Linked DNA regions of Homo sapiens: all the other regions are linked to region 4. Evidence: promoter capture Hi-C in 16 types of primary human blood cells and fetal thymus (Javierre and others, 2016). All regions are on one chromosome and are shown on one strand. The core of a region is centred on a gene start or on the middle of the fragment in contact, and the rest is flanking DNA. Distances in the headings are between cores, read along the strand shown.

Region 1 (3,649 bases), core at 84-2,583, 750 kb before region 4:
ACTGTATTACAAATTTCATGAAAACCTATTGGTTTGTCCAGCAGCTTCTCAATGCTGTTACCTGAGATGCTTGAGATTCTCTTAAAGAACCTGAGAAATAAGTGGGAAGGTGGGGACCATTTTGTTTAACCTGTGGGATGGTGAGGGCCATGTAGGAACAGGAAACAAATTCACATCTTTATAGAAACCAATGCTTCTTTAAAACCAAAGACCTAAAAGAAAAGCAAATTCTGCTTCTTGGATGATATTACCGGACAGATGTCCTGCTGACTGATCATGAAGTAGATAATATAAATACAACTACCTTGTTTTTTAGGACGAGGTAGCATATGGATTCAGATCCTGTAATGCTCAACTTAGAGCGCGCCTGGAAATATGATTCTTTCCCTCTTGTCTCATATGACCTCCTGAGGCATTATCTGTGCTACCCATAGACAACATTTACCATTAAGTGAGGTATTAGGAATGCAATCCACCAAATGGCAGAATGAAGACAGTTACAACCTAGCTCTTCTTGGTGGAATGTGTTTGGCTATACTGATACTATTTCTTAAATGTGTTAACCTGACATGTAACTGCATTCATAAATGACAGCTAAGCCCTTGGTGGTATCAGAGAGCAAAAGAGAAAGCATCATTTTATCCTTGAAGAGTCAGGTGCACCCTACTGTTCATACACTCCTGAGTTACATCTATCTGACAATAGCCCATGTGTCACAAATATCTTATAGTTAACACTGTAGGAAATTGAAGCATTTGGCTAGGGATATACAGATATCTGGATTTCCTAGCTCCCATCCTAGAATTTTAGAAAGTTTTCCTCAAGCTAGTACAAGTGAGATTCTCCACTCCTTGTGCCCTTTAGAAAACACTTCTTCCCTAGGTGCTTGTCTTGCTGCATGTTACAGAAAACGTGATGAATTTGGAAGTAGCCAGAAGATAAGCAGTTAAAGTAGCAAGAGGATGGAGTAGTGGGTCCCTACAAGACAGTTTTGCTTTGTTTTTGTTTTTATAAAGGACTCAGCTGGAAATTGGGGCAGAGCCCAAACCTACAAAATGTGTTAAGAAAAAGTAGATGTGTTCACTAAGTCTTAGAATACTGAGTCTAGGAGGAATCTCTTGAACATCAAAGAAGGCAAATTCAAAAGGAGCAAACAACCAAGACAGTGAACATGTGGACCTGCAGGCTGAAGTTCCAAATAGGAAGCAGCTTTAAAATCTCTTTATCACAATGCAATCCCTGGATAATAGAATCAGCACAAAATGGATACGGTGTAACAATACAGCTAAGCATGGCAGCTCCTTTCATCTTCTCCTACATTAGAGGTCTTCAACTCCTAATGCCTGTAGGCATTGGGCAGAAATGTGATTGAGTGAATGTGATAGGGTCAGAAGCAATGAGACAATAGAAAGTTGTAGGGACTGTAGTGAAAAGTGAGTCTGTGCCCTGTCTCAAAGATGTCAGGGATTACTTGGCTATAGCCAGTGTTTTAAAATGAGAATATGGGCCCAGGATTGCTCATCTTCTGCTTTCCCCAAGAACCCAGAAATGTAAAGTTTTTAAAAAGTGAAATCCTCTAGTATTTAAATGCTGAGAACTGATTTTTAAACTTTGTTTGTTAAATGCCGTGGCACAAATAAAACATCTCTGCAAGCTGGGTTAGCCCTTTGCATTACTAGTGTTTGACATCTACCTCCAAGGCAGACATGGTACTTCCATTCCTGGAGAGTTAATTTGAATGTTTGTTCATCTCCAGTGTTTGTGCGTGGTTAGTATGAATACCGATGGACAGGTTCCCATGCCCCCTGGTCTGATGGTGATCGAATGAATGCTACTTTCCTTGCACTTACCTGTTCTTCACTTTGAAAAGATCTTACCCTGCCACCTCCCCTCCCCTGCAACACTAACCAACTGGTTCAAATAATTGCACTCTTGCTCATGTCTTAAGCAAGTAAACCTACTCTGCCTTTTTACATACAGAGGCTGTTTACCTTGTCAGCTGAGGAAGCTATAAAGTACATTGCACATTGCATCAGGGAAACAGATAAGGGAGTAGGTCCATAATAGAATAAGCCAGATTAACAATGCTCCAAGGATCTCCCTAATTAGAGAGGGCAGTATTCCAACAACTCTGCCATGGGGCTGCTTTTGCTTCCATTTTCAGAGGCTGAGCACAGGCTGTATAGACTAGTGGTCTTGTCCCATTATATTTTTACTCTCATGCTACTCTGAGAAGCGTGGGGTGAGGAGGTACTCTGGGTCACCATGGCACACAGCCTCTGATATGGCCAAGCTGTATGATGCTGGGAAAGCCGACAAGCCAGCACCAAGGAGTCAGCAGTGAGGGAACAGTGGCATGTTCTGGATAAAGGCGTCGCTCAGTCCATGATGGTGAAGCAAAACCACACACTGCAACCAGCTCTGTAAACACTGGTGGAAGCCACAGACCAAAGAAGAATTCTTCATATTATCCCCCAAACTGTTCATCTTGAAGTCATTCTTTTGGCCATTCTTTCAACTACATCTACCTACCAAGCATCATCAGTGTGCTGTTCCTCTTTGAATCCCCAGTGTTTAGAAAAAGACATTGGAGGATCACAGTAGATGTTGGTAGAAGAGGTGGTTTAATCATGGCGTACATGCCAAATTTTAGACTTTCTTCCTATTACCCTGTGGTGGACTTATGTGAAACTAGTCCTACCAACATTTATTGAGTGCCTACTCTATGCTTGGCTATGTGCTAGGTGCATGAAGATGAATGAGACCCATTCCCACCCACCAAGGGCTCATCTGCTTGGTGAGAAGAGGCAAGAACTTGTAGACCATTTTGTTGCTGTGACCCACATGACAGTAGCAAAAAGGATTGGTTACGCCTGGGGAATCAAAGGTCTTGCCACTTATTCGTATCTTTTGTAGTCACTTTTATAGTCCATGGGCTGGGCTTCTGAGTTTCTGGGCTTCTGTTCCGTCACCTTATTGAAAGAGTATTGCAAGTCTAATGGACTTTTTAGGGCCTCCCTCCTTCTCAGTCTCTTTGACATTTGACATAGTTTCCTATCTCATGCTCTCTTAGAAAAACTTCTCCTGCCTTGACTATGGCATTTTGATATTTTTCTTCTCTGATTGTTCTGTCTTTTAAAAAGTTCAGTTTTTAAACAACCAATTCCTTTTTTTTTTCTTTTTTTGAGATGGAGTCTTGCTCTGTTGCCCAGGCTGGAGTGCGCTCACTGCAACCTCTGCCTCCCAGGTTCAAGCAATTCTCATGCCTCAGCCTCCCAAGCAGCTGAGACTACAGGCGCACACCAGCACATCTGGCTAATTTTTGTGTTTTTAGTATAGATGGGGTTTCACCACATTGGCCAGGCTGGTCTTGAACTGCTGACCTCAAGTGATTCACCTGCCTCGGCCTCCCAAAGTGCTGGGATTACAGGAGGGAGCCGTTGGGCCCGGCCTAAACCACCAATTCTTAAGGATGAGCATGCCTATAATTCCTCTTTTTCCATCCTCTCTTTTCCATACCGTCTCCATTGGAGATTGTATCAACTTCTACAGCTCTTTTGAAAAGATTGGAAGTGGAGAAAGGTTTACCTAGTACTCTTGCTTCCTTTAGCTCATGTTTTACGGAGCCTTACTTTAGCTAGGATGCTGT
Region 2 (3,903 bases), core at 1,348-3,847, 710 kb before region 4:
CATTAGCCACTTAGCAGGATATTCTGCTTTTATTCTACTTGTCTGTGTATTTCTGCTCTGTGAGGTAATAGGCTTCTTAAGGGACACGTATGTAGTGGCCCTCAGCAGTCTGATAGGAGCTGAGGCTGCTGGCCACTAAGTAGCTGATGCTAGTCTTCATGATCCTTGCTCTTGATGGCCGATTCCATTAAAGAGGAGTTAATTACATGGTAATGCCATAGCTCCTTCTTAAGAGGAGGCTTTAGTACAAACTTGGGAATTCATGTCACCTGGTGGACAATTGAAAGGCAGCTGCTTTCTTGGCCAGGTGCAGTGGCTCATGCCTATAACCTCAACACTTTGGGAGGCTGATGTGGAAGGATTGCTTGAGCCCAGGAGTTCAAGACCAGCTTGGGCAACATAGCGAGAGCCCATCACTAAAAAAAAAAATAAAAATAAAAAATAAAAAACTTAGCCAGGCATGGCGGAGTGCACCTATAGTCTTAGCTACTTGGGGGGCTGAGGCAGGAGGATCACATGAGCCTGGGAGGCTGCAGTAAGCTGTGGTCATACCACTGCACTCCAGTTTTTGTGACAAAACAAGACTGTCTTAAAAAAACCTTTCTTTAGGATCCAGTGCTAGTCACAGGTCAGATGTTGTCAGGAAGCACAGATATCAAAAGCTAGATTATTGCTATATATCATTTGTATGCACTAAACAATTTAAAGTCATCTCCCATAGGGAAAGATGGCTCCAAGGAGTAAAGGAATAGAGCAATTTATCATGAGACTGGGTCTTAGTAGGTTGCCCAGGCTGGCCTGAGACTCCTGGGTTCAAGTGATCCCCCTGCCTCAGCCTCCTCAGTAGCTGGGACTATAGGCACGAGCCACAACATCTGGCTTTATGTTCTCTTTTGATTGCTGTTTTGGTACTTTAAGGGCCTAATTTTTCTTCTGTTTTACAAACTGCCTAATTTTATAATTGTATAATTCCTAAAAATGTTTAAGTTTAATTTCTAGAAATATGGAAGAGGGACCTTTATTCTTATAACAAACTTAAATGTAAAAAGAACACCTGAGGGTATTCATATCTGCACTAAACGAAACACAGTCTATATGTTAGGTTGTACTTTTAAGATTATAATCATTTACGAGTGACAAACGCAAGGCTGTGGCTGTGGTTCGGAAAGATGTTTCAGGGTTTGGTTTCTTAGCAGATGTCATTTCAAACAAATAAGAATTAAAAAAATAATGTTTTTCATTTTTAAAAGGAAAAAAGTTTTATGTTTTCCTGAATACTGTGAATATCAATTTCTCAAACCAGAATAGGTATGTAAGTTCTTTGACATCTCATAATTTTGTAGTTGATAAAGAGGAAAAAACAATCATTTGTAGACCTTAGAAGTACCCCCAGCACTTCGGGAGGCCGAGGCCAGCAGCTCATTTGAGGTCAGGCTTTCGAGAGCCTGACCAACATGGTAAAACCCCGTCTCTACTAAAAATACAAAAATTAGCCAGGCATGGTGGCAGGTGCCTTTAATCCCAGCTACGTGGGAGGCTGAGGCAGGAGAATGGCTTGAACCCGGGAGGTGGAGGTTGCAGTGAGCTGAGATCGCGCCACTGCACTCCAGCCTGGGTGACATAGTCCTACTCTTTCTCAAAAAACAACAACAGCAAAAAAATTAAAAATTAAAAAGAATTGGTTGCCAATTTTTAAGAAGTCTGGTAATAACATAATTATTAAGAAGCAGGTAGAACTAATTAGCTTGGGTGTGTTAGGTTTAATTGCTTGCCTTCTTCTCTGGCTCAAAGAAAAACATTGCATCTTGTATGCTTAAGAATTTTAACAGCTGTTTTTCCCTCTACTGAACCAGTAAGAAGTAAATGCAGCATTAAAATTCCTAGGTTGATTTCCTGCCTTACTCAGCTGGCAGAGAAATGAATTTGATTTTTCTTCTCTCAGCAAAATGAGAGGCATAACTCTTTTAGTGTGGGTAGGGTTGTGAGGCAGGCCGCTCCCCAGAAAGTTGGCTTTTTTGCCAAGGTACTTAGAAGTCCCTGGTCTCTAGAGCCTTAAGAGGAATTCAGAGTCATGAGAATACTACCCCATTCTTGAGGTTGATGACCTGTATGTCATTTAATTCAGCGCGCTCAGAAAAAGTTCTGACTTCTTTTTATTTATTTATTTATTTATTTTGAGACGGAGTCTCGCTCTGTCACCCATGCTGGAGTGTAGCGGTGTGATCTCAGCTCACTGCAAGATCCGCCTCCCAGGTTCATGCCATTCTCCTGCCTCAGCCTCCTGAGAAAAGTTCCTACTTCTTAACAGAGACTCCAAGATTGACTATCTTAATTTGTTTTGATTATTTACAAATTGACTTTGACATATTTCTTGTCTACCTGATTGTATTATGGACAATTTTAAACATATACAAAATTATAATATAATAGCCACTCATGTTCTGATCACTCAACTTCAGAAAATCAGGAACTTATGCCTAATTGTGTTTCTTCTAGACTCCTACCCCCAATACATACTGTATTATTTTGAAGCGGATCTTAAACAGTATCTATAAGTATTTATTCATCCATAAGCATTTCAGTATTTGTCTCTAAAAGATAAGGCTCTCTTTTTAAAATCATTATCACACCTAAGAAAAAGTTAATAATTCCATAATATCAACATATAGTCATATGTTTAGATTGCCAGTTGTTTCACAAATGTTATGTGTGTGTATACTTTTCACAGTTTATTTTTGACTCAGGATCCAAATAAAACCACACAATTGTGTGCAGTAGTTTAATACATTCTTTAATATGAAAGTTTTAATCGTGAATATTTTTAAAGTATAGAAATTATGTATTAGGCATGCAATTAACAAATGTTTCCATTTTGCCATATTTATTTCAGATCTTCGCCTTTTTGCTTTTTTAGAGAAATAAAATGTTACAGATATTGCTAAAGGCCCTTACCCATATCTTTTCCTTTGTTTTTCCTACTTAGGGTTAGCAAATATCTTAAAGTTGGTGGATATGATTTCCACAGTATGTGTCTGTGTTACCGCTACATTTTTATAATGCTACATATTTATATCTAAAAACAAAATATCATAATTTTTTGTTTTTAACGCTTATATAGCTATTTAAATATATATGTACTTTCTGCAACTTGGTTTTTTTCATATTCATACATGCGACACAAATTGCTCATTTTAAACTGCTATATTTCACTTTAATGAAAAAATTTTAGTATATTTATTACTAAGGAGCATTTACGGGATCTTACCAATTTTTTCCTATTAGAAGTGGAGAGCAGTAAACATCTTTTTATGCACATCTCCTTAGTCACATGAATGAGAGTTTATTTCAAGTATAACACCTAGAAGTGGTAAGGATGTCTTCACTGTTGCCAGCGATGATTGATTTTGCTCCAAAGTTGTTGTACAATATAACTATCAGCAGCAAGATATGAGAACTCCAGTTCCCCCAGATCTTACCCAGCTCATAGCATTGTTAGGCTTCTAAAATTTGCCCATATGCTGGGCATGAAATGGTAACTTGTTCTTTCATACTTTTCTGATTACCAATGAGATTTAATATCATTTCATTTTTATTGGCTGTTTAGGTTCCTCCTTCTGTGAATTTCCTGTTCATAAAAGTTTTTTCTGACTCACAGCAGATTTTGGAGTTTCAAATGTGTTCACTCTTAATTATATAGACAAGTTAATTCTTTTGGGATAGCTTTAATAGATTTTGTACTTTGAGTGGTTTTCAGAGAAATCATGTTTACAATGACACGTGAACACTTTAAGATTCGAAAAGGACATTCGTGAGAACTAAGCTCTTTCTAGGTGGAGAAAACTCAACTGCAAGTGCAGAAACTACTCAAAATGTGATTGACTATGCTGTTCCATCCTACTGAGA
Region 3 (3,851 bases), core at 998-3,497, 790 kb before region 4:
TTTTGTCAATGTCTTAGAGAATATCTTTATTGTCTATTATCCTTAAGGGACTTAAAAGATTCAGAAAGCAAGAGATGAACTTAAGTACTCTGAAGTACTACTCAAATATTTTCTTAAGATAAAATATTTAAAATAGGATTTATTTTATTCCCTCTCTTTTTTCTTATTCTTGCTTATTAAATTGTTATTTTGCATTTTTATGCCATGCAGAACAATACTGAAAACATAATCTTGGTGCTTGAAACAGCTATCCTAGAATAATGACATATATGCTAGATGTTCAATAAATATTTGTTGAATGAGTATGAGAAAAAGATAGATAAAACACAAAAGAAATGCTACCATGATTTTTGTTTTCCTTTTTCTGGGATGTACTGTTAGAAGAGAAGAGAGCAAGACTGATAATACATGTCAGTTTTTATTTTTGGATGGGGAGATGAAGAAAAGTTACAAGAGAAAGAAAGGATACAACTACCTTGAGAGGGCAGGATAAATAAGATGGATTGAATTTGTTCTGGATTTTTGTTTTTTACTTCATGGGTTCTTTCTAGGTCTCCAGGTCTCCCCAGCCTTAGTTTAGGTTGGTGTATTTTTAATAGCTCGACACCTTTTCACTGATAGTCCCAGCTGATGAATTAACCTCACATTGTTACTATTTGGAAAACATGTTTAAGTTTTCTGTGCTTCAAATTATGGCTTTGCCTTTAGATCTGTGGTCCTTGATCTATGAAGTCAGATATCTCTAGAGTTTGAAATTATTGACCACACAATTAAGAGGAAACTTATTGTTCACAAGGGAAAATAGCCCTAATTTACTTATTCTTTAATGATCAAGGAAGGGTGTCTTTACCTTACATGCAAGCCTGAAACCTTTGCATATGAGTTAGAATAAAAAGCTGATCTCAACTGCTTTGGTTTTCAGTAAACGAAACCTTATCTTTAGACGGTATATTTAAAGACAAGGCTACTTGAGTGAAGTTTGATACTATCCAGAAGGTAACAGTTAGAACCAGGCAATTTAGGTTGAGTCTACTCACTAAATATATGAAAATTCCAGTGGATAGACTTATATGGCTGCAAACATTTGGATTGATACCATTTAGGTCAGTCAATACCATAGGACTATGAAAAATAAATTAACCACTAATGAAGAAGGAATAATTTTATCTGTGTTTATGTAATCAAAGCACAAATGTGAAAGCTTGCCTAATGCAAAGATATATTCTAATGTTTCATTGTTTAGTCGGCTTGGATTAATCAAAAGTAAATTGAGGTTTGTGTTGCCATAAATCCTTTCTTGATGAGTTTTGAATAGTCCTAAAAATTTTCAGGTCTATTTGAACAGAGTCCAAGTCTCCTTATGTCCCAGAGGGAAGCTCCCATATGAGAGCTGTAATGCAGATATACAAACCTAGGATGCTTTCGGTCCTTTTTATTATTATTTGTGATGTTCTGTCTTCCTTGTCACTTCCAAAGAGTTACTTACTGTAATTTCTCATGCGTCTTTTTTTTTTTTTTGAGCCAAGAGTACGATGATGGCAACTTTATTTTTGATGTTTGTATACATAAAACAAAATCCAGTTTTATAATTCCCTTTGGTCTATTATAGATTTAGGCAGAAAGGAACATTGCCAATATTAAAATGATAACTACAGTCTCACCAAGGGGGACAAAGGGGTTCAGCATTTAAGAATTTGAGGAATGACGTAAACATACTTTTGAAAACGTTGTGAGCTGATGGATGGAATTTAATTGGATTTTGAACAGTTGGTGGCTTATTCTCTTGGTACTTCAGCCTATTTACCATAAGAATAGTGAGTTCTGCCTATGACTTAATTTGAGGAACACTTGATAATGGCTATAAAATAAAGGCTTCAAATTCTTCAAAGTAGATTTCCTATTACATACAAGATAGTATTAGGTGCAACATTTGATATTACCCATTTCAGGGGATATGTATTTGTTTTCCTCCTTATGTATCATTTCCCTTTGCAACCTAGTTATGCCTCTTCACTGTTCTGGATTGTGAGAGTGAAGGATTTGTCCCTGCCCTGTAGATGGTGTGCTCCACAGTGACTGCCCCCTCCTTCAGGCTCTCTCACTGTCTAAATCAGTGTCTCTACTCCACCCCTGTAGTAAGTATTTCAACTCTGGAAACAAGATGGCTCCAAGCTGCTTGCATGAACCTCCCTTCTGGCCCCCTCCACAAGTCCAATGAAAAAAATGGTCCTCCCTTTCCCATGAGCCACAGAGCACATCTCTGAACTTGCTGCTGCTAGGATTTTATGAGGACATTGCAGCTATATGAAAATTAACTCTTCTTATGCTGTCCTTCAAGACTTCATTTGAGCTTTGTTTAAAAGCAGTTATTTATTGGTTCTGTATGTTAGGGCATTAGTGTTATGAAGAATAGGGATGACTCTAGTGAAAAGTATCCAAAAAGATAGAGCTAATTTTCTGCACTTCTGAAAATGTTTGCTGTCCCTTGCTGATGCTAACTTAGTTCATGAAGTCATTAAATGTTGGCATATTTTGGCCATGTTTCTCCCTACCCTCTTTAAATTACAGAAAGTGATTTAAAAAAATCCAGAGCAATGCCTTACTTATATAAGGTAACTCATTTTCTCATTATTTTCTAGCTGGTAGTGTGTATAATGATACAATATGGTTGAGTATGCATTTCAGACTAACATATGACTGCCAGTTTGTGTGCCTTAGTTTTCATTTTATTGTTCTGTGTCTTGTAGAGCAAAGAGCTTACAGCTTATCGGAGCCACCAAGAGAAAACAGGTACTTTTAACTATTCCAATTTTCCTGAGGAACTGCATGATCCTTCTTTGGAAATGTCCACACATCATTTTTGCTATCTGTTCACTAGTTCATGAGAGGTTTCCATGTAACAAGCCTGCCTAAGACCCTTTGCTCCCTCTGGGATCTGTATCAGGATAGATCTGCCAGCCCTCCCCTTTCAGTCCTTGGCTGTGCAGGCCTCAGGATTGGGGACAGCATGTTCTGTCTGGGTATCTTCAAAGCCAAATACCCTCAAGGGGAGCAGTGTGAGGGGACCACCTGTTTTAGAAAGACAACATGTTTTCTCCAGCTCTATTCCACCATGACAAGGGGACTTACTTTAGTAACAGAACCCTGGGTGGTCAATGATAGAAAGTGCCTAAACATCCCTACTGTCTCTCTATGGATTTTTGCCTAGTAGCCCTTCAGCTGGAAACAAAGAATAAACAATGCAGAAGACTTTTAAGCATGATCAGTTTCCTGGTTGAGATGCAGATTTAACCTAAGCTTCTCTTTCTCCTAGAAGGTAAAACTGTTGTTGGAGTATAGCTTGGGAAGCAGACCAGTGTGCAAGCATGATTGTTGGTTTCTGTTGGTGTTGAATAACTAACTGCCCATGAGTCACACTGTGAAATAGCCCCAGGGTTGTATGCAAAACAAGTGCCAGAATGGCACACATGTTTGACTTTAAGAGACCATCTGAAAAGAGTGAAATGGTTTAATTTTGTTTGAGATTAATACTAAAACTTTGAAACGTTTTAAACGTTTTAGTATACGGATCAAGATGGGGTGTTTCGTTTTAAATCCTGGAATCAAAGTATTAATAAGAAAAAGCCTCCTTTGGATCATTTCTATTTTTTTTTTGAAACCAGAATAGAAACTTTCAAATGATACAAAAGAGGAAGATTAAGAATGCCCTTGAAAGATAGGATGATGATCAAGTTGACTTCGTGACAATGGCAATGAGGATGATGATAGCAAAAGCAGTAATTACTGACAAATATTGAACATTTGTATGTGCCTTGTACTGTTTTAAGCAGTTTACATTTATTATCTCATTT
Region 4 (3,902 bases), core at 624-3,123:
GGCACCAAAATGCTTACACATTGAGCTGGAATCATGCTAGGCCCAGAACACATTTCCTTGAACATTAAATTCAGGATGGTGCAAAACAACATTCACAACCAGACTTACACCTAAGAAAACAATTTGCTTAGAAGACCTTAGGATATAGGATCTACATCTCTCCGCATCCTGTGTTTATGCTCCTGTATGTTCCAGGTTGGCCCAACAAGCCAGAAGGAAGAGCCTAGCCTGTCATCTTGGATACCACCCAGATGGAAAAGCACGTCACAGTCAAAATCACAATCAACATTCTTGCAACAATGTTTGATTAAAATAAAAAGTAAACTTGGAAACCCAAGAGGAAATACTTGCTTTCTGGTTTAAAACTGTGCAAACCTCAAAATATCAGCAGAAACCATGTATACAAGTCACTGAACACACCTTCAACATAAAATGAATCATCTTTCGAGCATTTTTAAGCCCCCAGAGAAATCACATTTGCATACCAAGTAAGTGGCCAAGAAAATGCACACATGTACTTAACCTACGTCTGCAAAGAAGACAGAGAAAGGGCTGCTATTACTGTGAACATCAAAAGGGCTTCAGTTACAGTAACTTCAGTTCACTTCATGCTCCTAACTCAGGCTCTCTGCCTCCAATGCTTAGCGTCCCGCACCCTTCTCCAGGTTTTGAACCTGATCTCAATCCAATCAAAAGAGAAACTAAGCAGATTTTTTTCTGGGCATTTACATTACCGGTAACAATAGAACATTATAAAGATCTTGTTAACAAAAGTAGCTTCTTGCCAGAGTCTTTTTATTAACACTTGCAACGCTATTTAACAAGCTGGCCATGCCTGTGTGACACCAAACCGCATGTGGATAAATTCAGTGTTTCATCTCCAGGCCCACCAATTCCTATCCTTTGTAACTAATAATGTTAACACGACAGATCAAGAAACTAGTTTTTCAGAAAGCAGTTTTCATTCATTCTCTATAGACATTTCCGCCGCAGTGAACATGCCCGCACTCAGGGTGTCTGTGCATGGCCCCAACTTTCCTCCAAGCCGGGGAGGATGCAACGTGGGCCAACCATCCCGCGCGCTCGGCCCTGGAGGCTGCGGGGAGCGACGCAGCGCGACATTCACCCCCAGGAAAGCGCTGCTTTCCGCAGAGGAGAGAGGCTGACTGTATCCTTAGCTCGGCTCCTCGCTTCCCCAGCGGCTCGCCCCAGACATTGCACCGCGGAGGGGAGGCCGGTCGACCTCTCCGGCGATGCCCGGCTTCTGCCTGCTGTGGGAGGGCAGCGGCGGGCACCGTGATCTCCGCACCGAGAAGAGCTCCCCTTGCCCTCTAGTCGAAGCTCCCGAGTGCTCGGAGCACGCTCACCCCTCGCGAACACACCCCTGCAGCCGAAGCAGCCCCTGAAGCCCGCAGCGCCTGCAACAGGTCCGGGGCAGTGGGGGAAACTTACAGCAGTGGCGACTGGCCGCAACGCACAACTGAGTTCTAGCGACGGTCACGGGCAAGGAGGCGACGAACCGGTCGTCTCAGCCCAGGGAAGCGGTGGCGAATGCCCCGGAGAAAGGAGGGCCAGCCGGGGAGAGGACTGCGCCCCGAACGATGGCTCGCGGACCGGCTACCGATGGCGTTCGCCTCCGTCTGTCGTCCCCACGCCGCGGACCCGGTGTCCAGGACCCGCAGAGCGTCTCCGGAGCGCGTCACGGTAGGGCAGAGCAAGCCTGCCACTGCAGGCGCCGCGGAAGGAGGCGGGCTGTGCGCTCGGGGGAGGGAGCTAGAAAGCGCCTTGTGTGCCGGCGGCCGCCAGGCGTCTGGACCGGGTCTCCGCAGCGCCACCGCCGCACCGCCTCCTCTCCGGCTGCCAGAGCAGTCTGCGCCCCGCCGCCGTGCGCCCCGCTATAAGTGGCGCGGCGGGGAGGGGAGGGGGCGCGTATGCAAAGAGACCGACACCGGGGGAGGGAGGAAGCGCATTAGCGCGGCCTGTGGTGTAGGAGGAGGAAGAGGAGGAGAAGGAGTGGGAGGAGGAGAGGAGCTAGAGAAGAGCGTGTCGGGGGAGTTAATCGGGAGAGGAAGCGGGAGAGGGGGGCTGCGGGGAGTGCAGAGAGACAAAGCGGACGCACTGTCTCAGCCGCTGGCAGCTGCAACCCCGGGAACCGAGAATAAAATAAGTTTTCCCGGGTTCGAGTGTCTGCGCCTCTTTGGGCCAGCCTGGTTAATGGACAGCCCCGGATCTGAGGGACCCACCTTAGGGGAGCGCAGCCCGGGGCTGTGCGCTTGGTGATGCCAGAGCCCGCGAGATGCTCTAAAAAGGGCTGCAAGGGGCGAGCTGGGTATCCGCAGGACAGGCCCTGGGCACGCATAGACAGCGCCTTGGGTAGGACACCCAGAGTGGGGAGAGATAGTGGCAATGGACGGGCAAAAGTCTGGACAGTTTAGGGACACTCGGGTTGAGCAAGCCAGGACGTTTAAGTTTCTTGCTGGCAGAGAGCCAAAGAGACTCCAGCCCCAGGCATTTCCTATGTGTCCTCCCTCCCCACTCCCCAGTGGGTGCGGCACCCCCGGCTGGACTCTGCCCTAAGCCAGGCGACTGCAGGGGCAGCCGGGGCGCAGTCCTGCGGGGCGCGCACCACGTGCTTTTCAGCCAATCGCCGCGGCCGCTTGATTCAAAGTGAACTCCTCAAAGCAGCAGCCACGCCGCCTCCTCTCCTAGCGATTAAGCCTCCATCACCTTCTCCTGTTTTTTATCGCTCGGTGGTGTTAGTTTGGAGTTCAGTAAAGAAATGGCCCAGCACACACACACGTTTAATAGTCCCGCGTGTCAGGAGAAGGGAAGGCGATTCGAAAAATAATCTCGCGTGGTGATCACTTTTACGAATCCCATTTATCTTTGCAACTAGAGGCTTGTCTTTCCACTGGGAGTTAAAATATCTGTCTTTTATTCGGTATTTGGAGCTAAGTCTATAAATGAACGGGATAGATGACCGGTCCAGCCCCCTTGTTTTACAGGTGGGGAACCGAGGCCCAGGGAGATGTGAATTGCCTGGCTCGTAGTCACTTAGCAACAATGTCCCAGCTCTGCAGCTCGAGAGTGAGGGCCCCACGACAGAGTTTATTCCGTCCCCGGGTCCCCGCGTCCCCAAGCGCCCGCGCTTCGCCTCCCAGCTTGCTTTAAAACACTAGGCGCAGGAGCGATTTAAACTGGCTAAGGAGGCCCCACATGGCGCTTCCAGAGTCCAGACTGCTGAAACCAAGACTGTCAGTTCTTCATTCTAATTTCATTTTCCTTTATCCTTGTTCCTTCCTGGTATTTGCGCCGAGAAATTTCGCTCCTTGCAAACAAAGAAAGACAGTGCCCTCTGAAGTCCTTTGTTAGCATTAACTCGGCAGCCTCACCACGAACCTTTCAATATATATATTTTTTAATGCAGAGTCTCGGCTTGAGGCTGATTCACAGAGACAGCCCGGATCAATTCATGTCAAGAACCACGTATGGAGAGCCAGGGGGGCTGCGAGGTTAGGAGAGGGCTGGCAAGCAGCACCCAGGTTCTGAAGCAAAGACCAGACAGATGGAAACTCTGTAGACTCCAGAGATAGGTGCTGAAAAGATGGGAGGCGGAAATGTGTAACTATTGCACATATGTCTTTTTAAAACATGTTTCTGTAGCCTGTGGCAAGGTGTGGGGGAGCTCATCAAGGCAGCCACCAACGCACCTTTTAGACACCTCCTAGACCCACTCTGTCTGCTTCCTTTGTGAGTCAAATCTACCTAAAACGGCACCTAGATGACCTTGCCTAGAAATGGACTATGTACATAGCTCAGCTGGTTGGTTGGGGATTTTGCCACAGGAAGCGACAGAACTAGGGACAGGTATGTATCTTTACCACCTAGAAATTGCGGGATGT
Region 5 (4,116 bases), core at 1,489-3,988, 730 kb before region 4:
TCTCTTGCCAACATCATTAAGTTAAAATTTCATTATATTTTTGAAATAAATTGGAGAGAATCAACACCTTTACCATAATCACTTACTTGTCTTATAAAAGAACATCGGTCAGTCATCTCTTATTCTATGATTTGCTGGAGAGCTTTGTAATTGTCTTCATATGGTATGATATGCGTGTATATGTATTTTTTTCACTAAGTTTATTCATATGTCTCTTTGCTGCTATTGTGAATAATTTTTTTTTTCATTTTGTGTCCCCAGTGGTTGTTGCTAATATAAATAAAGGTATTGATTTTGGGGTACTTATATTGTAACTGGTAAACTCATTGAACTTTATTTTTCATTTTAATAGTTTTTCCATTGATATTTTGAAGTATTCCAGGTAGAAAATAAAAATTAGAAAATAATGATATTATGGCTATTTGTCAATAATTACATGAATTTCATTTTCTTGGCTTACTGCTTAGGCTAGGACTTTTGAAAATGTGTTAAATCACAGTGGTAATAGCAAGCTCTTTGTCTTGTTCAAGATTTAGTGAGAATGCTTTTAGTGTCTTAGGTTAGATGTGAGGTTCTGGAGTTGATGTTCTTAGCAATCAATGTATCATGTAAGACAACTAATCTTTCTTTTAAATGTCAGCTGGGAAGGGATACAGTTTGAGCACCAGCCATTAACTTGGGGGATGAAAACATTGAGCATCCTGGCTAGTGTTGCCGGATGAAAACACTCACAAGGTCATGTGTCTTCTTTTCAACCCTGAATGCAGCCCTGTGTAGATTCAAGGTTCGGAAAAGCTGGATCACCTGAATGACCTAATTTTTGCAACACATTAGGTTAAACCAACATGGGAAATATCAAAGTCTACAGTGAATTATTTTAATCTGAGCTGGTCCAAGGCCATGGGCTTTGAAAGATTTCTGTTCATGGCACAGTCGTCTTTTTTGAAGCTGAATGTCTTATATGTGACTGAAGTTTTTACATAAACAATTTTGAATCAGGTGGAATGAAATTTGATCCCTATATCAGGAAAATAGAGTTAGAAATGAGGCATAGACAGGGCTAAAAGGAAAAGACACAGATATTCTAGCAAAGTAAAGTTAAGAGAGTGAATTGGGAATTTCCCTAAACTTGAAAAGCAAGTGCTGTTCTCTGTCCTAAATATAAATGTAAACTTTAAGTGTGAAGATTATTCATTTAGCTTTAAATGAATATTTAAATTTAGATGAATATCCGATCTTCAGATTCCAGCTCTATGCAAGGGAAAAGAATGGCCTTATCCCAAATGTTAGATAGACATGAAGAATACCTCACAGAAGCACTTAATTACTGTAGCTGTAACTCTTACGTGAGAGTTATTGTCTGTGGTAGTTTTGACATATAAAGTATGGGATTTTTGTTTGTCTTACCATACTGGTCCCTAAAGATTTATTAGAATTAAGTGGTGATGTATAGTCTACAATTTTCTTTAGCCAGATCAACAGAGTCCTGAGTGGCTTATTGTGTGCTAATTATTTCATATTTAAAGATCATAGTAATTAATACCTATTCTGGATGATAATCATTGTTTTATTTATAACAACTCCCAAAAGCCACTAAATATTCATGTGTCTGAAATTTTAAAGATTAGTTTCCAAATTTAAAAATATGAATTTTTGTTCAAAAGGCCCCAGTGAATACATTTTTGAGTCGTATTCCAAGACAAGTATGAATTTAAAATATACCTTAGTTCTTTAACTTTCAAAAGTATAGGAAACTGCTGAGCTGACAAAGAACATATGGTCAAATCCCCATCTTCCCAACATCTGTTATATGGACAGTTTAAAAAATTCTTAGGAAGGAAAAATGTGAATTTATCCCTAGGAGAGAAATGATTTCTCATATGGGGTCAAAACATACACACATACTCAGTATGTGTCCATTTTCAATTTGTCCCTTCTGTACTGCTTTGCACTCTAAATGGGAACTTTTAAAATTAAAAGCTTCCAAGGGCATTCACAGAGATCTCTTTGGTTTTGTGGAATCCTTCCAAATCTTGGTAATTATTTCCTGTGATGTTGCCAAACTTTTCATAGGCAGATACCGTAACTCAAAATGTTTTTTTAATCTGGTTGGTAATGTCCTCTGGGCTTTAGAGTATCTATTTTCCCTTAATCATTTCAGCCTCCTGTTAGCGATCTATTAAACAAATAAATTTCAGCTTAGTTTTTTGTGCATGACCTTCCTGCTATAATACAAAGATATAACAGTAATGAGACTAGCTTTAGCCACTTACATATCTCCTAAAAATGGTATTAACTGCTATTCTTAGGCATTATGTTATAAAAACATTATTTACCTAAAGTCTCCAAATAGTTGTTTTTTATTTTTATGTCTTCATAATGCAATGTAGCTCAAGTAATTTCTGGTTTGGGACTCAAAGGAAGGATACTACTAGGTTTATGTGGATTCTTAAGTTCTCATGAATGATTGACTAGGGAGAGACCTCAGCAAGAGAGTGAGATGTAGGACAGGAATGCACAGCCTTGTGAATTTATGTGCCGAGTTCGTATTCAGAAGACTCGCTTAACTATCACCCAACCACCAGCAGCAAACTACCTTCCCACAGGAGAGGATGATATTGCTTTTGGGCTTTGTTTCTTTTCTCTATAAATTCACAGGTCCTACCCCTAGGACAGATGTAGACACACCTCTCTGGAACGCCAAAAACCTTGCCTTTGGAGGTAACTTAGAAAAAGGCCAGAAATATTAAGAGAAGTGAATTCGGGCCTGCGTTTTGTGTTTCGAGGTAGTTCCAACCGAAAGGGTAAACAATAACCATGGAACCTTGTGTTCAGTGATTTTTCCTCTGTCTGCTCTGACAGGCCGCCTTGACCATTCAGGACAGCCACATTGAGATCCACAGGCTGGTTCTCCAGCAGCAGGAGGGCCTGTCTCTCGGCCACTCTATCCTCCGAGGCGGCCCCTTGCAGGACCAGAAGTCTCGCGACGCGGACAGGCAGCATGAGGAGCTGGCCAATGTGCACCAGCTTCAGCACCAGCTCCAGCAGGAGCAGCGGCGCTGGCTGCGCAGGTGTGAGCAGCAGCAGCGGGCGCAGGCGACCAGGGAGAGCTGGCTGCAGGAGCGGGAGCGGGAGTGCCAGTCGCAGGAGGAGCTGCTGCTGCGGAGCCGGGGCGAGCTGGACCTCCAGCTCCAGGAGTACCAGCACAGCCTGGAGCGGCTGAGGGAGGGCCAGCGCCTGGTGGAGAGGGAGCAGGCGAGGATGCGGGCCCAGCAGAGCCTGCTGGGCCACTGGAAGCACGGCCGGCAGAGGAGCCTGCCCGCGGTGCTCCTTCCGGGTGGCCCCGAGGTATGGACCTTCTGCGGTGCTGTGAGGCAGCCTCTCAAAGACAGGGGTGGGCCTGGGGGCTCCTAGGACACTAACCAAACATCTGTCATTTTGGATTTGTGTAAGAAGACCTCATGAGGATTTTTCAATTTGTAGGTAGCCAAAGCTGGAAGCTTTCAGAGATAACGCATATCCATTTTGACTTAAAATATGGACAGTGCGGGCCAGGCGCGGTGGCTCATGCCTGTAATCCCAGAACTTTGGGAGGCCGAGGCGGGAAGATCACCTGAGGTTGGGAGTTCGAGACCAGCCTGGCCAACATGGTGAAACCCCGTGTCTACTAAAAATACAAAAATTAGCTGGGCTTGGTGGCGGGCCTCTGTAATCCCAGCTACTCAGGAGGCTGAGGCAGGAGAATCACTTGAACCCATGAGGCGGAGGTTGCAGTGAGCCGAGATCACGCCATTGCACTCCAGCCTGGGTGACAAAAGTAAAACACCATCTCAAAAAAAAAAAAAAAAAAAAAAAAAGGACAATGTGAGGGCCCAAGTCCTATGGGATCACTGCACTCTGCCTGAGATGCCCTTACCCTAAGGAACAAACACAGAATCAAGTTGTCCTAGAAAGGCCAGGGTGGGTTTGTCCTGGAGGCACACTCACTGCGAGCGTGCTCTTTTTCCAGTATTTGAAGGACTCTCTTTATATGATCTGTCTTAAGAGTTCTATTAGATGTAGCTTTTAGAAGATCAATTAACTATGAATATATACTATAGGCACTGAATTTAGCAA
Region 6 (4,081 bases), core at 859-3,358, 660 kb before region 4:
TTCTCTACATATGTCAACGGGCCTGCAAGAGGATTTGGCAGTGTGCTCAGGGGTTTAGGGCACAGATTCTGGAAGCAGGTTTGGTATATAGGGCCTTAGATAACTCATGTAGGATTTCTTTTGCCTTAACTTTCTCCTCTCTAAAATGAGGAGAAGAGGGTTGTACTACTGCTAACCACACAGACTTCTGTAGTGATTCAACAAGGCAGCACACATATGAAGGCCTTAGCAATGCTAGACACACAGGAAGGCCTCAAAAATATTAACTCATATTATAGCTAACCCTATTATTCAAAGGTAACAGATTCAGCAAAACTAAAATAGGAAAATAAAAAACTAGAGGGTATTAAATCTAGGTCTAGAATTGTGATTCCACTTCTTGAGTGTCCCTGCCAACCTGTCTTTCTTGGAGCTAAGAATTCTCTTCACATTCAGTCATGCATATCTGTCCATATTGTCATTGAAACACATATTATTGTAAAAGTATATCCAGAAAAGGTATTTTTAAGGTGCCCACATTTTCTATCTCCTGGCAGTGGAAGGACTTTGACTTCAGGGAAAATTTTAGGACACTGGGAAGGTCAATTACTCTTTTAAGATCATAATATCCTTACAAAAGGGTCCCATATGACCAACCAAGAATCACAGTATATGAAGCACATTCACCTAGAGATGAAAACTATTCATTTCTGACTCTTGTAGACTCCTAAGTGTTCTAAATATGATGTATAGCTGAAAACAAAGTTTAAAAGCTGATTTCAGAAGAAACCATTAAGCATATCCTGAAAGAAATCAGTTGATTTTACCTATTTGGGAAAACCTTTCAGCACAGAGAAGCGTAAAACAGAATGGTTGTCCTTTTGCAAAAAGCTCGTTTTGCAGGAGTCAGAAGGAGAAGCAGAAAGGCGGGTCTGCCAATGGCTTGAGATAAGTCTTTGGGAAAACTGCAGGCAGCCTGAACCTCATAAAGAGCTTATCCAGAAAGAGACATGAATATGATTATCCCTGGCTTTCAAGAGAGTGCAATAAACCAAGCTGGAAGATTGGTTTCTTTCTCTTCAGGCATGAGAGTGAAAGGCATTACCCCTTCCCCATGTCTCCCCACCTTTCCACTGCCCACCCCAATTTGAGCAGGCACAAGATTGCCTATGAAAAGTGCCATCAAAGCTTCAAAGACTCACTAGAGACCACCAGTTTCTGACCTCTGGTCAAACAACTCCAATGTGTGATGTGCCTGTTTCCCACGGACTATCCACGTTCCCAGCTGGGTTTGTGGATAGTGGAATTGGGTTTGTCTCAACTCCACACTCGTCAGATGGTTGTCTCATAGGAAAAACCAGCCAAGGGATATATATTTTGGGAGGCTGTTCTCCCAGAGGGTTAAGGCCATACAACCAGGCTCCCAAAACAGTTTAAGAAGAAAGTCACCCTGGAGTGGTACTGTTGGATTACTAATACATCTACTGCTACCCAATGGCACTCTTTTTTTTTTTTTTTTTTGAGATGGAGTCCCGCTCTGTCTCCATACAACCAGGCTCCCAAAACAGTTTAAGAAGAAAGTCACCCTAGAGTGGTATTGTTGGATTACTAATACATCTACTGCTACCCAATGGCACTCTTTTTTTTTTTTTTTTTTTTTTTGAGATGGAGTCCTGCTCTGTCTCCCAGGCTGGAGTGCAGTGGCATGATCTCGGCTCACTGTAGCCTCCATTTCCCAGGTTCAAGCAATTCTCCTGCCTCAGCCTCCCGAGTAGCTAGGACTACACACCCGGCTATTTTTTTTTTTTTTTTTTTTGTATTTTTAGTAGAGATGGGGTTTCGCCATGTTGGCCAAGCTGTTCTTGATCTCCTGATCTCGTGATCTGCCTGCCTTGGCCTCCCAAAGTGTTGGGATTACAGGCATGAGCCACTGCACTCAGCCTTTTTTTTTTTTTTAAATTTAAAGCCATAGTAGTCCTTAAGAAACCTCCCATTTAGAAAAAATGTTGAAAAGGTGGAGAGGGACTAGAACACAAAGGACTCATGGAGGGACTGGGAAGGACACATCTGAAACAGTAATTCACAGCATGAAGGTGCCAGGCCAGGTCTGGAAAAGATGCCCAGTCCAGAGTGAGAGAGCAGCACACAGCAGGCCCCCAAATAGTTCAGCTCCAGTGGCCATGCCCTCCACCAGCAGCCAGCTCATAAGGCTTTCTCTGTCCCTTCTCTTCCTCCTTTTATCCCTGGCTCCCATCCTACCCAACCCTACTGGAAAGATGAATAAAAAAAGTTAAAAAGGAAAAAGAAAAGGTATATTTATTAGAAATGTGTTCGGCTGTGAGTAACTAAAAGCCCACTTTATGGTGGCTTAAAGAGGGGTCCATTTTTCTCAAAGCATAACAAGTTTGGATATTTCCTGACTTTTGTCAGTGGCTTGGTCCTGGCTAAGGTCTTTGTGATTCCCTTGGCTTTCCTGACATGTCTCATGGTCACAAAGTGGCTGCTGTAGTTCTAGCTATCAAGTCTGTCTTCAAGGCACAGGAAATGGGAAGGGGATAGGGAGGGACCTGTCCCTACTTGCAACATAGCAAAACTTTCCATAAGTGGCCAGATTTCTGCTTATGTCACACAGTTCAGTACAAAATCCCATCACTTTCTCGGCCACCAGCAAGGCTGGGAAAATGGTGGCAAGGTAGAAGAGAATGGATATTGGATTCAATCAGTCAGTAATGTTTACCAAAAGAGGCAATGCAGAATCTATTAAAAATGAGAGATCTCCCCCAAGAGATTTCTGGGCTGCACCCTGGTTGATTCTGATAATCATCCAGACTAGGGAGCCACTGGCCTATGTAAAAATCTCTGCATCCCCAACAACCTAGTTGGGGATTAATCCTATAGACAGTGAGTACTTGAAAATTAGAACATCTGACCTTCTTAATCTTTCCTGGAAGGAAGGAGACTAAAATGAAGTGAGCCAGTGGTGTGCATACGCTGTTCTGCAAGGTGATAACATCTAGGGACCGGAGAAAGAGCCTTTATCCTTTTACAGGAGGCTGTAAGATAATAGAAACCAAGCTTGTTAACCAATAAATAGACGAGAAGCCTTGGGACAAAGGCCTTCTTTTTGGTAAAAATCAGAAGTGAGCAGGAAGGACTCACCCTGAAATTCTCAAACGTGGAGAATTGGAGAGTGAGTTGTCTCAGGGTGCACATAGCTGGACGGTAGTCTCCATCTTAGGGCAGATGGTAACAGTCCTTCTCTCTTCATGCGGCTCCTATATGCCGAGTGCAGGCACTTCACTTGGTTATAAGAAGCTTTAAGCTGCAACCAGATGCTTCCCTTTTCCCTTCCCTACCACTGGAACAGATGGAGTTAAGCTCTAGGCTGATTTCTTGCCCAGAGCACATGGTCCTCTCCTTCTTGTTTCTGCTGATGAGAGCTTAGTTACCAAAGATCTGAGCTCTAAGCCCTCCTCAAAAGCAACAGCTCAGGGAGGTGCTGACCAAAGCCTGTGGTTCAAATTTTAATACAGTGTCTTCGGGGGAGCTGGGAGGACCTATATTCAAATGAACTGAGGACTTCAGTTGCCTCTTGTTCAAGATGAAGAATCCCGTTGGCTCAGAAGGGGAACCCCAACTTTCAAAGCCATTTTTCCCCACGTATATTGATTTTTCCATAGTGTCAACTGTCATTTACCAGGTAGGCACCCGCCTGCTTCATTGTCCCTTGGGTGAGTGAAGACATCACCACTTGTTAATTGCTCACCAGGCACTGGACCAAACTCAACACATTAATTTTCTTACTAGGCTCAGTGATGGCTTGGCTGAAGAAGACTTCATGATCACTCCCATTTTGAAGATCAGCACATTGAGGTTCAGAGTGGTGAAATGACTTGAAGTTCCTGTGGAGAGTAAATGGGAAACATCAGAGGAATGATTTGAACCCTGGTCTGTCCACCTTCAGTGCCCATATTTTGTCCTCCATGCTTTGAAGCACAAATCATGATTCAGGTGAAGAAAGATATTTTAAGAGCTATGAAGATTGCTGGTATTCTCAACAACAAGAGCTCTGTGGTCACATGTGAGTCTAGTTTGGGTTGTT
Region 7 (4,140 bases), core at 253-2,752, 770 kb before region 4:
CCTAGTTGTAATATGTATGGGTACACCATTCCTTTTTATGGATGATGAATATCCTATTTTGTTTTCCTAATCATCAATTGATGGACATTTTGGGTTTTTCCACTTTTGGGGTCATAGAGTAGTAGCTTTACGTTTAATCACTTGAGAAACTGCCAGACTGTTTTCCAAAGCAGCTATACCATTTTGCATTCCCACCAGCAATGTATGAGGGTTCCAGTTTCTCCACATCCTCACCAATACCTGTTTGTTGCTTTTTTATTATAACTAGCCTAATATGTGTGAAGTGATGTGTCATTTTGGTTTTGATTTTCATTTCCCCAATAGCTAATGGAGTTGAGCATCTTTTCATGTTCTTATTGGCCATTTGTATATCCTTTTGGAGAAACATCTGTTCAAATCCTTTGACCATTTTTGAATTGGTTATTTATTTATTTATATTGTTGAGTTATAAGATTTTTAAAAATATACTAGATACAAGTTCCTTATCAGATAAATTATTTACAAATATTTTCTCCCATTCTGTGCGTTTTCTTTTCACTTTCTTGATGATGTCCTTTGATTGATTGTGATGCATTGTTTTCCTCTGGAGAAAGTGGAATTTTGGAGACAGATTCTGCCATAGAAAGGACCTATGGTTATCTGCATTGAAGAACTTTCTTTAGTTCCATTCATTTCACCAAATTAATTGTGCTCCTGCTCAATGCAAAAATCAAATAAAGAAAGGAAGAAAGAAAGCCAACAAACTAAGTTGTATTTCATAGGGCATTCAGGGTGGAATAAGACCTAGTTCCTAGCTGAAGGTATCTAAAGATGCTAGCTAGTTATATTATTGAGTTTCAGATACGTTAGATTCTTGTATATTGGACTTGACATATATGTCCTCTTTAATATCTGGATAAAAGAAAATGGTTTAATATTTTAGAGTGAATGAAATGTTTAATGTTGACTTTTATATTGGAATATTCTTGATATTCCTAAACATTTCTTTTTTATTTGCGTAACATATAGTGTTGAGTTACTAATTTAGTTTAATAGCGAAACTTGCTTTTTAAAGCTTGTTTAAGGCTTATGTGTGCTCACACATTTCAGAGCTAATGCAAACAGAGATGCATCACATCCAGACCCTGTTCATCATGTCTGAGATCTTCAGGAAAGGCATGAAAGAGGAGCTGCAGCTGGACCACAGCACCGTGGATAAAATTTTCCCCTGTTTAGATGAGTTGCTTGAAATCCACAGGCATTTCTTCTACAGTATGAAGGAACGAAGGCAGGAATCCTGTGCTGGCAGCGACAGGAATTTTGTGATCGACCGAATTGGAGATATTTTGGTACAACAGGTAAGAAGAGCTTAAAGTCCTTGACCTTTATGACGTAAGTGGGATTTGAATCAAAATCTGCCCTTTCATCAACAAGAGTAAAAAAAATGATATTTTGAAACATTCATAGTGACATTCTGAGGATGTGTTTACCATCGTTAGATTGTAACTCCCAGTAAGGCAGGGATTCTTGGCTATTTGATTACTGCTATATTTCAGCACCTGGAACAGTGCATGATATTATAAATATTTATTGAATGAATGGGCCACTTAAGGAAAAAAAAATCAGGAATTCACCTGAATGTCACGTTTTACAGTGGTCTGCAACACTTGGAAAGGCAGGGAGCTCCATCTGCAGTTGCTTTAGCATGGCTTTCCCTGGGTAGATGCTAGAATGCCATCTTCTCCAAATGTACTGTTTTTTGAAGCTGTTTCATCCTATCATTTACAGCGATGGAGTTCAGCTGTTGGTCTGTATGCAGAAAATGGGGGAGTTATGCTGAGTGGTATTCCATGCTATTGATATATCACTGTTTACTCATTCACTTGTTGAAGGATATCTTCTTGTTTCCAGTTTTTAGCTCTTATAAATAAAGCTGCTATGAACACTCAGGTGCAGATTTTGGTGCAAACCTAAGCTTTCATTTTTCTGGGATAAATGCCCAGGAATGCAATTTCTGGGTTGTATGGGAGTTGTATGTTCAGTTTTGTAAGAAACTGCTAACTGTTTTCCAGAGTGGTTGTACCATTTTACATTCTCATCAACACTGTACAAGTAATCCAGTTTCTCTACATCCTCACCAGCATCTGATATTGACACTATTTTTAATTTTGGCTATTTTAAGAGGTATAAAGTAATATCTCATTATGGTTCAAGTTGCACTTCCCTCATGGCTAATGATATTAAATATCTTTTCATGTGCTTATTTGCCATCTATATATCCCTTTCAGTGAAATTTCTGTTTATGTCTTTTGCTGATTTTCTAATTGGATTGTTTGTTTTCTTATTGATGAATATTAAGGTTTGTTTACATATTCTAGACATTGGTTCTTGTCATATATGTGATTGACAAACTTTCTCTAAATCTGTAACTTGTCTTCTCATTTTCTAATTTTGATGAAGTCTAGTTTATTTTTCCTTTTAAGAATTGTGCTATTAGTTTCAAGTTTTTTTATTTATTTTTATTTTTTTGTTATTATTATACTTTAAGTTTTAGGGTACATGTGCACAATGTGCAGGTTAGTTACATATGTATACATGTGCCAAGCTGGTGTGCTGCACCCTTTAACTCGTCATTTAGCATTAGGTATATCTCCTAATGCTATCCCTCCCCCCTCCCCCCTCCCCCCACCCCACAACAGTCCCCAGAGTGTGATGATCCCCTTCCAGTGTCCATGTGTTCTTATTGTTCAATTCCCATCTATGAGTGAGAACATGCGGTGTTTGGTTTTTTGTCCTTGCGATAGTTTGCTGAGAATGATGATTTCCAATTTCATCCATGTCCCTACAAAGGACATGAACTCATCATTTTTTATGGCTGCATAGTATTCCATGGTGTATATGTGCCACATTTTCTTAATCCAGTCTATCATCGTTGGACATTTGGGTTGGTTCCAAGTCTTTGGTATTGTGAATAATGCCACAATAAACATACGTGTGCATGTGTCTTTATAGCAGCATGATTTATAGTCCTTTGGGTATATATCCAGTGATGGGATGGCTGGGTCAGATGGTATTTGTAGTTCTAGATCCCTGAGGAATCGCCACACTGACTTCCACAATGGTTGAACTAGTTTACAGTCCCACCAACAGTGTAAAAGTGTTCCCATTTCTCCACATCCTCTCCAGCACCTGTTGTTTCCTGACTTTTTAATGATTGCCATTCTAACTGGTGTGAGATGGTATCTCATTGTGGTTTTGATTTGCATTTCTCTGATGGCCAGTGATGATGAGCATTTTTTCATGTGTCTTTTGGCTGCATAAATATCTTCTTTTGAGAAGTGTCTGTTCATATCCTTCACCCACTTTTTGATGGGGTTGTTTGTTTTTTTCTTGTAAATTTGTTTGAGTTCATTGTAGATTCTGGATATTAGCCCTTTGTCAGATGAGTAGGTTGCAAAAATTTTCTCCCATTTTGTAGGTTGCCTGTTCACTCTGATGGTAGTTTCTTTTGCTGTGCGGAAGCTCTTTAGTTTAATTAGATCCCATTTGTCAATTTTGGCTTTTGTTGCCATTGCTTTTGGTGTTTTAGACATGAAGTCCTTGCCCATGCCTATGTCCTGAATGGTATTGCCTAGGTTTTCTTCTAGGGTTTTTATGGTTTTAGGTCTAACATGTAAGTCTTTAATCCATCTTGAATTAATTTTTGTATAAGGTGTAAGGAAGGAATCCAGTTTCAGCTTTCTACATATGGCTAGCCAGTTTTCCCAGCACCATTTATTAAATAGGGAATCCTTTCCCCATTGCTTGTTTTTCTCAGGTTTGTCAAAGATCAGATAGTTGTAGATATGCGGCGTTATTTCTGAGGGCTCTGTTCTATTCCATTGATCTATATCTCTGTTTTGGTACCAGTACCATGCTGTTTTGGTTACTGTAGCCTTGTAGTATAGTTTGCAGTCAGGTAGTGTGATGCCTCCACCTTTGTTCTTTTGGCTTAGGATTGACTTGGCGATGCGGGCTCTTTTTTGGTTCCATATGAACTTTCAAGTAGTTTTTTCCAATTCTGTGAAGAAAGTCATTGCTAGCTTGATGGGGATGGCATTGAATCTATAAATTACCTTGGGCAGTATGGCCATTTTCACGATATTGATTCTTCCTACCCAT

Evidence for each region. The method cuts DNA at HindIII sites, captures the fragments that hold promoters and counts their contacts. A CHiCAGO score of 5 or more calls a contact.
Region 1: a contact is called between a fragment that was not itself captured here and the fragment with the promoter of ENC1 in region 4, in 14 of 17 cell types (neutrophils, naive CD8 T cells, naive CD4 T cells and 11 more). The highest score is 19.6, in neutrophils.
Region 2: a fragment that was not itself captured here is called in contact with the fragment with the promoter of ENC1 in region 4 in 9 of 17 cell types (neutrophils, naive CD8 T cells, total CD4 T cells and 6 more); the score reaches 11.9 in neutrophils.
Region 3: a fragment that was not itself captured here is called in contact with the fragment with the promoter of ENC1 in region 4 in 1 of 17 cell types (monocytes); the score reaches 6.3 in monocytes.
Region 5: a fragment that was not itself captured here is called in contact with the fragment with the promoter of ENC1 in region 4 in 17 of 17 cell types (naive CD8 T cells, naive CD4 T cells, activated CD4 T cells and 14 more); the score reaches 30.9 in naive CD8 T cells.
Region 6: a fragment that was not itself captured here is called in contact with the fragment with the promoter of ENC1 in region 4 in 1 of 17 cell types (fetal thymus); the score reaches 6.0 in fetal thymus.
Region 7: a fragment that was not itself captured here is called in contact with the fragment with the promoter of ENC1 in region 4 in 6 of 17 cell types (activated CD4 T cells, megakaryocytes, naive CD4 T cells and 3 more); the score reaches 6.8 in activated CD4 T cells.

What each region holds. Positions count from the first base shown.
Region 1 is chr5:73,888,373-73,892,021 of GRCh38, forward strand. All of the region lies in intron 26 of ARHGEF28 (Rho guanine nucleotide exchange factor 28), which reads left to right. Among named protein-coding and RNA genes, the nearest start is that of LINC02122, 210 kb to the right of the region's middle. The HindIII fragment of the contact is 4,754 bases long and covers 1-3,649 here.
Region 2 is chr5:73,926,778-73,930,680 of GRCh38, forward strand. All of the region lies in intron 35 of ARHGEF28 (Rho guanine nucleotide exchange factor 28), which reads left to right. Among named protein-coding and RNA genes, the nearest start is that of LINC02122, 170 kb to the right of the region's middle. The HindIII fragment of the contact is 5,300 bases long and covers 1-3,903 here.
Region 3 is chr5:73,849,903-73,853,753 of GRCh38, forward strand. ARHGEF28 (Rho guanine nucleotide exchange factor 28) reads left to right here. Exons shown (of 36, transcript NM_001177693.2): 14 at 2,748-2,790. Among named protein-coding and RNA genes, the nearest start is that of ARHGEF28, 230 kb to the left of the region's middle. The HindIII fragment of the contact is 2,096 bases long and covers 1,200-3,295 here.
Region 4 is chr5:74,638,855-74,642,756 of GRCh38, forward strand. It overlaps ENC1 (ectodermal-neural cortex 1), which reads right to left and starts at 1,874. Exons shown (of 3, transcript NM_003633.4): 1 at 1,453-1,874. It also overlaps a transcript of HEXB not described here. RefSeq lists enhancers at 1,323-1,682, 2,144-2,859, 2,860-3,573 and a silencer at 1,723-1,982. The HindIII fragment of the contact is 20,564 bases long and covers 1-3,902 here.
Region 5 is chr5:73,906,550-73,910,665 of GRCh38, forward strand. ARHGEF28 (Rho guanine nucleotide exchange factor 28) reads left to right here. Exons shown (of 36, transcript NM_001177693.2): 34 at 2,863-3,348. Among named protein-coding and RNA genes, the nearest start is that of LINC02122, 190 kb to the right of the region's middle. The HindIII fragment of the contact is 1,520 bases long and covers 1,979-3,498 here.
Region 6 is chr5:73,978,579-73,982,659 of GRCh38, forward strand. It overlaps LOC105379034 (a long non-coding RNA gene), which reads left to right. Exons shown (of 4, transcript XR_001742745.1): 4 at 3,787-4,081. Among named protein-coding and RNA genes, the nearest start is that of LINC02122, 120 kb to the right of the region's middle. The HindIII fragment of the contact is 1,887 bases long and covers 1,166-3,052 here.
Region 7 is chr5:73,871,910-73,876,049 of GRCh38, forward strand. ARHGEF28 (Rho guanine nucleotide exchange factor 28) reads left to right here. Exons shown (of 36, transcript NM_001177693.2): 22 at 1,090-1,337. Among named protein-coding and RNA genes, the nearest start is that of LINC02122, 230 kb to the right of the region's middle. The HindIII fragment of the contact is 900 bases long and covers 1,053-1,952 here.